Regions from separate parts of the Homo sapiens genome. Here all the other regions are linked to region 1. Evidence: promoter capture Hi-C in 16 types of primary human blood cells and fetal thymus (Javierre and others, 2016). All regions are on one chromosome and are shown on one strand. Each heading gives the region's core, a stretch centred on a gene start or on the middle of the fragment in contact. The rest is flanking DNA. Distances are from core to core; before and after follow the strand shown. Region 1 holds the start of CDCA8 (cell division cycle associated 8). Region 2 holds the start of PSMB2 (proteasome 20S subunit beta 2). Region 3 holds the start of SMIM12 (small integral membrane protein 12).

What was found. Contacts are between HindIII fragments. The CHiCAGO score rates a contact against its expected background, and 5 or more counts as called.
Region 2: the fragment with the promoter of PSMB2 here is called in contact with the fragment with the promoter of CDCA8 in region 1 in 4 of 17 cell types (naive CD4 T cells, naive CD8 T cells, fetal thymus and 1 more); the score reaches 9.0 in naive CD4 T cells.
Region 3: the fragment with the promoter of SMIM12 here is called in contact with the fragment with the promoter of CDCA8 in region 1 in 6 of 17 cell types (naive CD4 T cells, total CD4 T cells, activated CD4 T cells and 3 more); the score reaches 8.9 in naive CD4 T cells.

The regions. Positions count from the first base shown.
Region 1 is chr1:37,690,618-37,694,092 of GRCh38, forward strand. It overlaps CDCA8 (cell division cycle associated 8), which reads left to right and starts at 1,899. Exons shown (of 10, transcript NM_001256875.2): 1 at 1,899-2,167; 2 at 2,288-2,416. The coding sequence starts at 2,074. It also overlaps a transcript of AIRIM not described here. RefSeq lists enhancers at 640-1,150, 1,151-1,660, 1,433-1,622, 1,661-2,171, 2,172-2,680 and 1 more and silencers at 953-1,012, 1,033-1,202. The HindIII fragment of the contact is 4,527 bases long and covers 43-3,475 here.
Region 2 is chr1:35,640,003-35,643,367 of GRCh38, forward strand. PSMB2 (proteasome 20S subunit beta 2) reads right to left here and starts at 1,524. Exons shown (of 6, transcript NM_002794.5): 1 at 1,340-1,524. The coding sequence starts at 1,430. RefSeq lists enhancers at 499-1,464, 1,253-1,712, 1,465-2,429. The HindIII fragment of the contact is 1,783 bases long and covers 550-2,332 here.
Region 3 is chr1:34,858,210-34,861,371 of GRCh38, forward strand. It overlaps SMIM12 (small integral membrane protein 12), which reads right to left and starts at 1,540. Exons shown (of 2, transcript NM_138428.6): 1 at 1,468-1,540. RefSeq lists a silencer at 1,362-1,491. The HindIII fragment of the contact is 6,874 bases long and covers 1-2,220 here.

The DNA of each region.
Region 1 (3,475 bases), core at 649-3,148:
TGGGTACTGTAGTCCAACATGTGGACTGGCCACTCGGCTTGAAGCTTCCTTGGGATTGGATGTTGGGACCGTCCAAACACGGCGACTTCTCATTTGTCAGCCTGCGGCAGTTTAAATTGGGTGGCGGTGGTGGCATGTCCTGTTAGCTGTGGAGTCTTTTCCTCTTATCTTGCGCCTCCGGTTGTGCCTTAATGACACTTTTGACATTGTGTATCACAACCAACTGGCAAAAACTAGTAAATCACGGGCTCCTGACGTGGCAGCTCTGGCTAAAATGCAGGTGGACGTCCTAGGTGCCCAGGGAGTTCGGGCTCACTGGGGAGTAGGGTGAAGGAAACCCTGAAACCGAGAGGCTGGAAGCCCGACTTGCGCAGCATAAAAACACCTGCAGGGGGAAAGCCTACATGAGGTACGGGTTGTCATCCCGTCTCATCTTGGCCATCTGACTGATGGAGATCCTCAGGCACCCAGCAGACTGGGGTGTCACCCCCACTACCCACTGCCCAGGGCTGACCTCGGGCGGAAGAGCGACATTCAAATATTTGTTGCATATGGAGCAACAGACCAGGGTGGAAGAGAGAGAAAGGACTTTCCAGGAAGGTCCAGGCTTGCCAGGACTTCTATGCTTGGACTGCTCTGTCCCCAAGCTCGCTGGTGCCCATCAGGAGCCTGCTTGGCACCTTTGCTTATTTCTTCGATTGTTCCTCAACTCAGAGGGGGAGAGGCAAGATTATCACTCCCATAGCCTATAACATGCACGCTTAAACACAACCCCTCTGACATGGCTTCAGACCGCATCCACAGGTGAAAAGCACCAAATCCAAACAATCAGGCCACAAACCCGTCAAGAGCTCGCCGGTCTGGCCGTCCAGTCGCCGCCCGCCTTGAGACTCAGCCTGAGCTACAGCTTCGAAACTAGCCTCTAGCCTTCTGGGTCTCAGCACAACTCTTGAGCAATCCAACCCTGTGGCCGTGGGCAGATACCAAGATGCACAGTTAGCACCTCCGACAGGACCGCGGCTCGGCGGGGCTCGCCGTCTACACGCCCATTCCCAGGCCCACGGCCACGACACCCAGAGCTGCCTCCTGCCCTGGGCTCCCTGGAGCCTGGTGGCCGCGGCTCATGCTGCAGTCACCGTGTGGCCAGCTGCCAAGCGCCACTACTTGCACCTGAAGTCGCAGCCCCGCGCTGCGCACCCAGTCGAGGCGCCAACACGCGAACTGGGCGGGAGTGGCCGGCCCGCGGGGGAGCGAGGAACGACAGGGTTCCCCCCACTCGCTGCCCAGACTGGCCGCGGGATAGCGCGCCCCCCCCAAAGCCTGCACCCCTGCCCTGCTCCTCTATCATTCCGTCCCCCTTGCTCTGTCAAACCCTGCCGGGGCTGCTCTGTCTCTGCCGACCCGCCACTTGCCCGAAGTTCGGCCTGAGGAGCTTGGGGCCCTGAGGAGCGCCGACGTAGGCAGCCAGCCAGTCAATCAGTCAGAGGGTCACGGCGGCCCCTCGGCTACTCAGTGGCAGCCAGGCCAGAAAGAAGCAGCCGCCAACCCTGGAGCAGAATCCTACAGCCGACCTGACCTAGTAGGCCCCCAGCCCTCCAGAGCTTGGGGTATTGCAGAGCCGCCACAAGGCCTGCCGGGAGTAGTAGTTTGTATAGTTCGCAGCCGGCCAGGGCGGAGCCGGGTGGGTTGGTGGGGAGGGCGGGGAAACAAGCCTGGACCACAACTCCCAGGAGTACCCGCGACGGCGGCGGCCTCGCTGTCGCACTCAGGCTATAGGGGGCGCATTGGGCGGAAGACCCTGGGCCGGCAGGAACTTGCTTGTGATTGGATGTTGTGGGACGGCGGCTTCTCATTCGTCAGCCTGTGACTGTGGAGTTTGAATTGGGTGGCGGTTGACTGTAGAGCCGCTCTCTCTCACTGGCACAGCGAGGTTTTGCTCAGCCCTTGTCTCGGGACCGCAGGTACGTGCCTGGCGACTTCTTCGGGTGGTCCCCGTCCGCCCTCCTCGTCCCTACCCAGTTTCTTGCTTCCCTGCCCCATCTCCGCCGCTCCCCGCAGCCTCCGCCGAGCGCCATGGCTCCTAGGAAGGGCAGTAGTCGGGTGGCCAAGACCAACTCCTTACGGAGGCGGAAGCTCGCCTCCTTTCTGAAAGACTTCGACCGTGAAGGTAAGGGGCCAGGCCGTCGCGGCCTCCTGGGGCGGTCGCGGGATGCTGGCGGGTGGGGACACGAGCTGCACAGATTCGCCCGCCCGTGACCCGTGTCCTGTCGGCTCTGCCCTCCCGCAGTGGAAATACGAATCAAGCAAATTGAGTCAGACAGGCAGAACCTCCTCAAGGAGGTGGATAACCTCTACAACATCGAGATCCTGCGGCTCCCCAAGGCTCTGCGCGAGATGAACTGGCTTGACTACTTCGGTAAGAGCTGGAGAGCTTCCCTGGGCGGAGGCCAGGAGCCCCTTGGGGTTAGGTGACACCCTTCAGAAAGGGCTCGCTCAGATGTCACCTTTTAATGAGATCTGACATGACCACTTATGGAAAATTGCAGACCCTTTCACTCTCTGTCTCACTTCCCTACTTCATTTTTCTCTATGAAAAATGGGGGGGTGGTTGGGGGGCGGCGGGCGGGGCGGTCTCTGTCGGACAACTCAGCTCTGCTGTTTACAGGTCCAAAACAGCTGTAGTGAATGGGCATGGATGGGCTGTATTCCAATAAAATTTTAGTTATGGATACACTGAAATGTGAATTTCACATAATTTTCACACATCAGGAAATTTATTTAATTTTTTTTAAACAGAGTCTCACTCTGTCACCCAGGCTGGAGTGCAGTGCAGTGCAGTGGTGCGATCCCTGCTCACTGCAACCTCCACCTTCTGGGTTCAAGTGATTCTCCTGCCTCAGCCTCTGGAGTGGCTGGGATTACGGTCGCCTGCCACCATGCCCCGCTGATTTTTGTATTTTCAGTAGAGACGGGGTTTCACCATGTTGGCCAGGCTGGTCTCGAACTCCTGACCTCAAGTGATCCACCTACATAGGCCTCCCAAAGTGCTGGGATTACAGGAGTCAGCCACTGCGCCCGGCCAGAAAATAGTATTTTTAAAAATATATGTATATTTTACCCATTTAAAAATGAATGAATAAATGACATGGTTAGTTAACCAGAGCTCAGATAGAAGAATAACCCGAAGCAGCTCCTTCTGCAGCTTATGGAAATTGCTAACCTAAAAATGGGCGCATCAGGCTGGGCGTGGTGGCTCACGCCTGTAATCCCAGCACTTTGGGAGGCTGAGGCGGGCAGATGACCTGAGGTCAGGAGTTCGAGACCAGCCTGACCAACATGGAGAAACCCTGTCTCTACTAAAAATACAAAAAAGTTAGCCGGGCGTGGTGGCGCATACCTCTAATCCCAGCTACTCTGGAGGCTGAGGCAGGACAATCGCTTGAACCTGGGAGGCAGAGGTTGCGGTGAGCTGAGA
Region 2 (3,365 bases), core at 274-2,773, 2.1 Mb before region 1:
CAGAACCTGGGTTCAACCTATGCAGTGAGTCCAGACATTTTGCCCCTAAGTACTATAATATACTATACTATACTATACTATACTATACTATACTATACTATCTATACTAAATTACTCAATACATAATTTTAAGAAGATTTTGGTTGTTTTTCTGCAGAATCTAAGTTTGTTTTCCTTAACTGATCAAAGACGTGCTACTGTTGAAAAAGTATTAAGCTTTGGTTCAGATGACTTAATGGTCATTTGACAAATATGTTTGGGCACCTACGTACACTTAGTATTATTAAGTACCTGCCTAGTGCTAAGGATTTGCACATAACTCATTTACTAAATCCTCCCGACAAGTTTGTGAGTTTGGTATTGCTAATCTTAAAGATGAGGAAATCTGGGCACTGCAAAATAACTTATACAAACTCATAAGGCAAATAAATGACAGGGCTCCAATCTCTTAACTCCATTAACTACTTAAATATAAGGAAAACCTGGCAGCCATTGCTCTGGAAAACTGGAAAAGAAGAATCGGGAGCCACGGGAAGAAGGAAAATGCCAAGCTTCTGGTCCCACAGTCTCACTCTCCCCAGGATCCCACCTTATGCCGCCAACAAACTAACCTCATTACTAGCGACACCAGGAAACTTATCAGAGATTCGGGGATCTAGAGAGCCAGTCCCACAGTCTCACTCTCCTCAGGATCCCACCTTATGCCGCCAACAAACTAACCTCATTACTAGCGACACCAGGAAACTTATCAGAGATTCGGGGATCTAGAGAGCCAGGCTCTGGGCAGGCGCTTAAACATTTATAAACTGATTCCCTTTAGGCAACTCTCACCAAGCAAGAAGCATTTAGCGAAGGCCAGAGCAGAGCACTGACCCAGGAGCCCTGGAGGAGCAAATGCCAAGGTCCCAGACCTGTCTGCCTGTTTCGCCTGTAATCCCAGCACTTTGGAAGGCCGAGACGGGCGGATCTCCTGAGGTCGGGAGTTCGAGACCAGCCTGACCAATATGGAGAAATCCACATCTCTACTAATAATACAAAAATTAGCCAGGCGTGGTGGCGCATATCTGTTCCCAGCTACTCGGGAGGCTGAGGCACGAGAATCGCTTGAACCCGGGAGACAAAGACTGTGCTAAGCCGAGATCGCGCCATTGCACTCCGGCCTGGACAACAAGAGCGAAACCCCTCTCGAAAAAATAAATAAATAAATAAAATAAGTACGGGCAGGGCAGGCCGGCTTCCATCTCTCAGATCCTCCCTGGTACTTATTCAACCCCCGACAAACTCCTTCTGGCCGCTCCTACACCCCAGGCCTGGCCGGGCCTCCCCTGCTTCCTCTCACCGTCCTTCATCTGGACAATATTGCTGGCGGCCACCCGGTCGGAGGCGACAAGAACATAGTCGGGGCCTTGGATACCGATGAGGTACTCCATGGTGGCGGAAGGCCAGGGGCTGCAGGTCCGACACAGCACGAGACTCGCCCGCTTCCAGGTCTCACCGGTGAGACAGCACCTCAGAGCGAAGATTGGCGCGACGCCTGCAGCACGACTTCCACGGCGCTCTCGGATGACGTACAACTGTCGCGAGAGGTTGCAAAGCGGGCGCGGCGCCGGGTGCCTTATGTTCAGTGCTTGTCTCTGGGATCGTACGGGTCTCCTCCGGAGCAGGCTGTGCAGGTCACTTGCCTTATGTGACGCCCAGTTTCTCTGTTTACACACTAAGATTTTAAAAGTGGCTTTAGGATAAAATCACGCAGTGTATGTAAGGTGCCGAGCACGTGTGGGTGTCAAAAAGGGGTAGGTAGCCAGGCAGCCGTTTCCCTACGTTGCTCGGTAAAATCTCCCCAGAAACCCCTTTCCTGCAAGCCAGATTGGAGAAAAATTAACTTGAGGGGAGCCTTACTTCCATCCTTCACAAAAATAGTATATGGTTGGATTAAAGATATAAGCATGGCCGGGCGCAGTGGCTCACGCCTGTAATCCCAGCACTTTGGGAGGCCAAGGCAGGCGGATCACCTGAGCTTGGGAGTTCGAGACCAGCCTGACCAATATGGAGAAACCCCGTCTCTACTAAAAATACAAAATTAGCTGGGCGTGGTGGCGCATGCCTGTAATCCCAGCTACTCTGGAGGCTGAGACAGAGAATCGCTTGATCCCTGGAGGCGGAGGTTGCGGTGAGCACTCCAGCCTGGGCAACAAAAGCGAAACTCCGTCTCAAAAAAAAAAAAAAAAAAAAAAAAAAAAAAAAAAAAAAAAAAAAGAGAGGGAGAGAGATACAAACATGGAAGAAAAAGTAGAAAAATATTTCTGTAATTTTTGGAAGAGATGTGTTTCTAAGCTTGACAGGGAACCCAGAAGCAATATGAGAAAAGACTTGACAGATTTGACTACCTAAAATTACACGTCTCTATGTGGTGAAAGTCATTATCATGCTCAACAGTAAATGTAAATTGGGAATGTTTCAATTGTAGAAATAGTTACTATTTTGGACCTTATAGACAGAAGAAAGGAAAAAGTTAATATCTATAACTTAAAAGATATTCCTACAAACCAATGGGAGGGGAGCCGGGTGAGACAATACCATTTTTAAAAGACCCGGCAGGGCACGGGGGCGGATCAAGAGGTCGGGAGTTCGAGAACAGCCTGGCCAATATGGTGAAACCCCGTCCCTACTAAAAATACAAAAAATTAGTTGGGCGTGGTGGCAGGCGCCTGTACTACTCCGGAGGCTGAAGCAGGAGAATTGCTTGAACCTAGGAGGCGGAGATTGCAGTGAGCCGAGATAGCGCCCCTCCACTCCAGCCTGTGCAACAGAGAGACTCCATCTCAAAAAAAAAAATAAAAAATAAAAAAAGACCAAAGACTAAGAAAAACAATTCACAAAAGAAGCAACACGAATGGCCAATAAACATGAAAAGATCCTCAACCTTGATGGTAATTAGGAAAATGGGAAATAAGAAACAATGAGAAAGTATAAATTGGGGGTAAGGTTCTAAGTTGTACAACCTTTTTATAGAGAACAATTTTAATATCTGTTAAATATGCATAACCTTTTGAATATGTCCAAAAGAAATGTTTGGACACACAGTCCAAATATTTGTGTACCGAGATACTCAGTGTTGCCAGGGGCAGTGGCTCACGCCAGTAATCCTAGCACTTTGGGAGGCCAAGACGAGCGGATCACGAGTTCAGGAGTTCGAGACCAGCCTGGCCAACATGATGAAACCCCGTCTCTACTAAAAATACCAAAATTAGCTGGGCGTGGTGGTGCGGCACCTGTAATCCCAGCTACTGGGGAGGCCAAGGCAAGAGAATCGCTTGAACCCGGGAGGCAGAGGTTGCAGTGAGCCAAGATCACACCATTACACT
Region 3 (3,162 bases), core at 290-2,789, 2.8 Mb before region 1:
ATCCTCATAACACCTCTATGATGTAGGAATTATTAGCCCAGACTCTTGTGAAGGCCACAAAGGCTCACAGACATTATGTTAACTTATCCAAGATCACTAGAAGTGATAGAGCCACTGATTTTGAACCCAGGCCTCTCCAATTTCAAAGCCTACACTCTTTCTAGTGGGAAGAACACACTGCAGAGGTATACGGTTTCTGTCCAAACCCTGGACTTAGGGAGAGCTTCCTACAGTTTTTTCCCATCAGCCTGGCATTTCATTACCTAGAAGAGCTTTCCTTTTCCCAAACTCTGAGATTGTACTCAGGGATTTATGAAATTCAGAGACATAGTAATAGTTAAAAGAGGCACCTCTGAAGAATCCCAAACCTAATACTTCTCCATTTTACTTCCACCTTTAAAGCAAGTCCTCTGTATAAGTAAATGCTTCCCTAAATAGCAACTGTCCGTTCAGATTTCCAAACCTGTCTTAAAACATATCGCGCATGAGTTCACAACTATCTCTCACATGCAGCATAAAGTCTCTCGCTACCGTCCTGCTCACATTCTAATCATTCCCAAATAAGTCAATTCATTCCTTTATTCGACACTTATAACCACTTACTCTGTGTCAGGCACGATGCTGGCTTACCCTGTCTGCGTTTCTCAAGACACTTTAAGCTCCAAAAGGCTAAGAACCGTGTCTGTCTGGCCCAATTATGCCCTATCCATCCAGGCACCTCTCCTACCCTGCCTGGCAGAGTGCCCAAAAAAGGTCTGCTGAACGAATGAATGACAGCCCAAACTCCCTAGTGTAAAATCACAACATCCTCCACCCACTCTCCCCCAAAAGGTGGCAGGAGCATAACAGATGCCTTTGCTGATTACAAAAACCTAAAGACTCCATCATAGTCGTCCCCAGGCAGGGTATCACAATGAAAGAGGCAAAAGTGTCTGAAAAACACTGTGACGCATATTTCCAGCCCGGCATGGAGGACGTCTGCCAAAAGCATCCGGTAAAGGTCAACTGGGCTGCTGGGAAACCTGCCCCAGTGCGAGGGCCCGGAGGCCCAACGAGGCCAGAAGCCGTAGTCCCAAATTCAAGAACTACTAACAAGGACACAGGAGGCCTGAGAAGGCGGAAGAATTAGCCCTGACAGTCACTAGAGCGCAGTCCAGGAATGGGAGCGCAAGTAAGGCGAAGGTCCATCCAAATGGCTACCCTTCTCCCTTCTGTGAGTCTCCCGGTCCCCTGTCCCTAGCCCACCTCATTCATGGCCTCATCAACGTCCGTCCTCATTGAGGTGCCGAGAAGCCCTGTCTGCGGAGGGCTACCTGGGCTCCCAGACTTGGCACCAGAACACCCGCCAGAGAGGGGAGCTGGCAGATCTGGCCGGGACCGGGGTGGACCCTAGCGATCACTCCTCCCGTAACTCAGAGGTTACTGGCCTGGGCTGACCCGACCTGCTCGCCGGGACCGCGCGCTCACCTGCGGCCCAGCCCACACTCCCCAGTGCGGCCCCCGCTCTCCGCCCGCTCGCCGGGAGCACGGAAGTCGCCGCACCCAGCGGCCCGCGGGACCTTGCCCTGTGACCCTGCCCACTGGCCGCCGGCTCTCTCGGAGCGCAGGGATTGGCTGAACTTCAGCCAAAGGACGGAAGGAAGCTAGGCGTCCGCAACTGGGCCCCACTGCGCTGAAATGGACGTCGCGCCCTCTGTTGGCCGGGAGGTTTCTCAGTGATGTCGCCACGTGTTTTCTGCGTGGAAAAAGTGAAAGATCATCCAGTCATTTTTTTCAACTGATGTTTATTAGGCGTCTTCTAAGACCTAGGTCTGGGCACGCAAAAACAAAAGACATGATCCCTGACCTCAAGAAGCTCTTCTTAGAAGAGTATATTTTAGTGCTTTAAGACCTCTTGGGATCCGGGCTAGCTTTCTAGTGACCTTGGGAACATTATTAACCTGTCTGAGCCTCCCTTCCCCTTCTGTGTAGAGGTAATAACACCCATTTCGCAAGGATGGTGTGAGGGTTGGAAGAGATAATATTTGTAAAGTACTGTGGCAGGCACACAGCCAGCAGGGAAATAAATGTGGCTATTGTTAGTGTAAAAATAATTCAAATATAGTAAAACCTAAGTCTTACATGACCTCTTGGGTACAAGTATTCACTTCCTCCTCTGTGTCCCCACTGTACCCTATACAGACATCAATTTTATCATATACAGAAAAGTCCCAAAGCTCAAGCTTGTTAATGCTCCCACAAGGCCCTTCCCACCCTCATCCCACTAATCTCAGCCTGCATATTTATTTTGCTCGCACATACTAAACCCGGCAGACCACACTGTTTCACACCTCAGTGCCTTATTGATGCTTTTTCATCTACCTTCCCACCTTTTTTGTTGTTGTTGTTCAATTTCACTCTTGTTGCCTGGGCTGGAGTGCAATGGCGTGATCTCGGCTCACCGCAACCTCCGCCTCCCAGGTTCAAGTGATTCCCCTGCCTCAGCCTCCTGAGTAGCTGGGATCACAGGCATGCACCACCACGCCCGGCTAATTTTGTATTTTTAATAGAGAAGGGGTTTCTCCATGTTGGGGAAGCTGGTCTCGAACTCCCGACCTCAGGTGATCTGCCCGCATCGGCCTCCCAAAGTGCTGGGATTACAGGCGTGAGCCACTGCGCCTGGCCGCTTTTTTTTTTTTTTTTAACAGGACTCTCGCTCTGTTGCCCAGGCTAGAGTGCAGTGGCACAATCATAGCTCACTGCAGCCTCAACCTCCTGGGCTCAAGTGATCCTCCCACTTCAGCCTTCCGAGTAGCTGGGACCACAGATGCACACCACCAGGCCTGGCTAATTTTTGTACTTTTTGTAGAGACTGGGTTTCACCATGTTGCTAGGGCTGGTCTCGAACTCCTGAGCTCAAGCAATCCGCCCGCCTCAGCCTCCCAAAGTGCTGGGATTACAGGCATGAGCCACCGTGCCTGGCCATGTAGTGCCCTTCCCACCTTTCTTTACTATGCCAGATTGTGCTCTGGCACAATTTTCAAGCTTAAGGGTCACCTCCAGAGGAAGCCTCATACATAGACTGCTTATCACATTAGACACCCTTCCTCTATTATCTCAAACAGCTCAAAGCTAAGCTCTGGCAGTGAAGATGGAGAAAAGGGAACAGTATTGTAGGGGCCA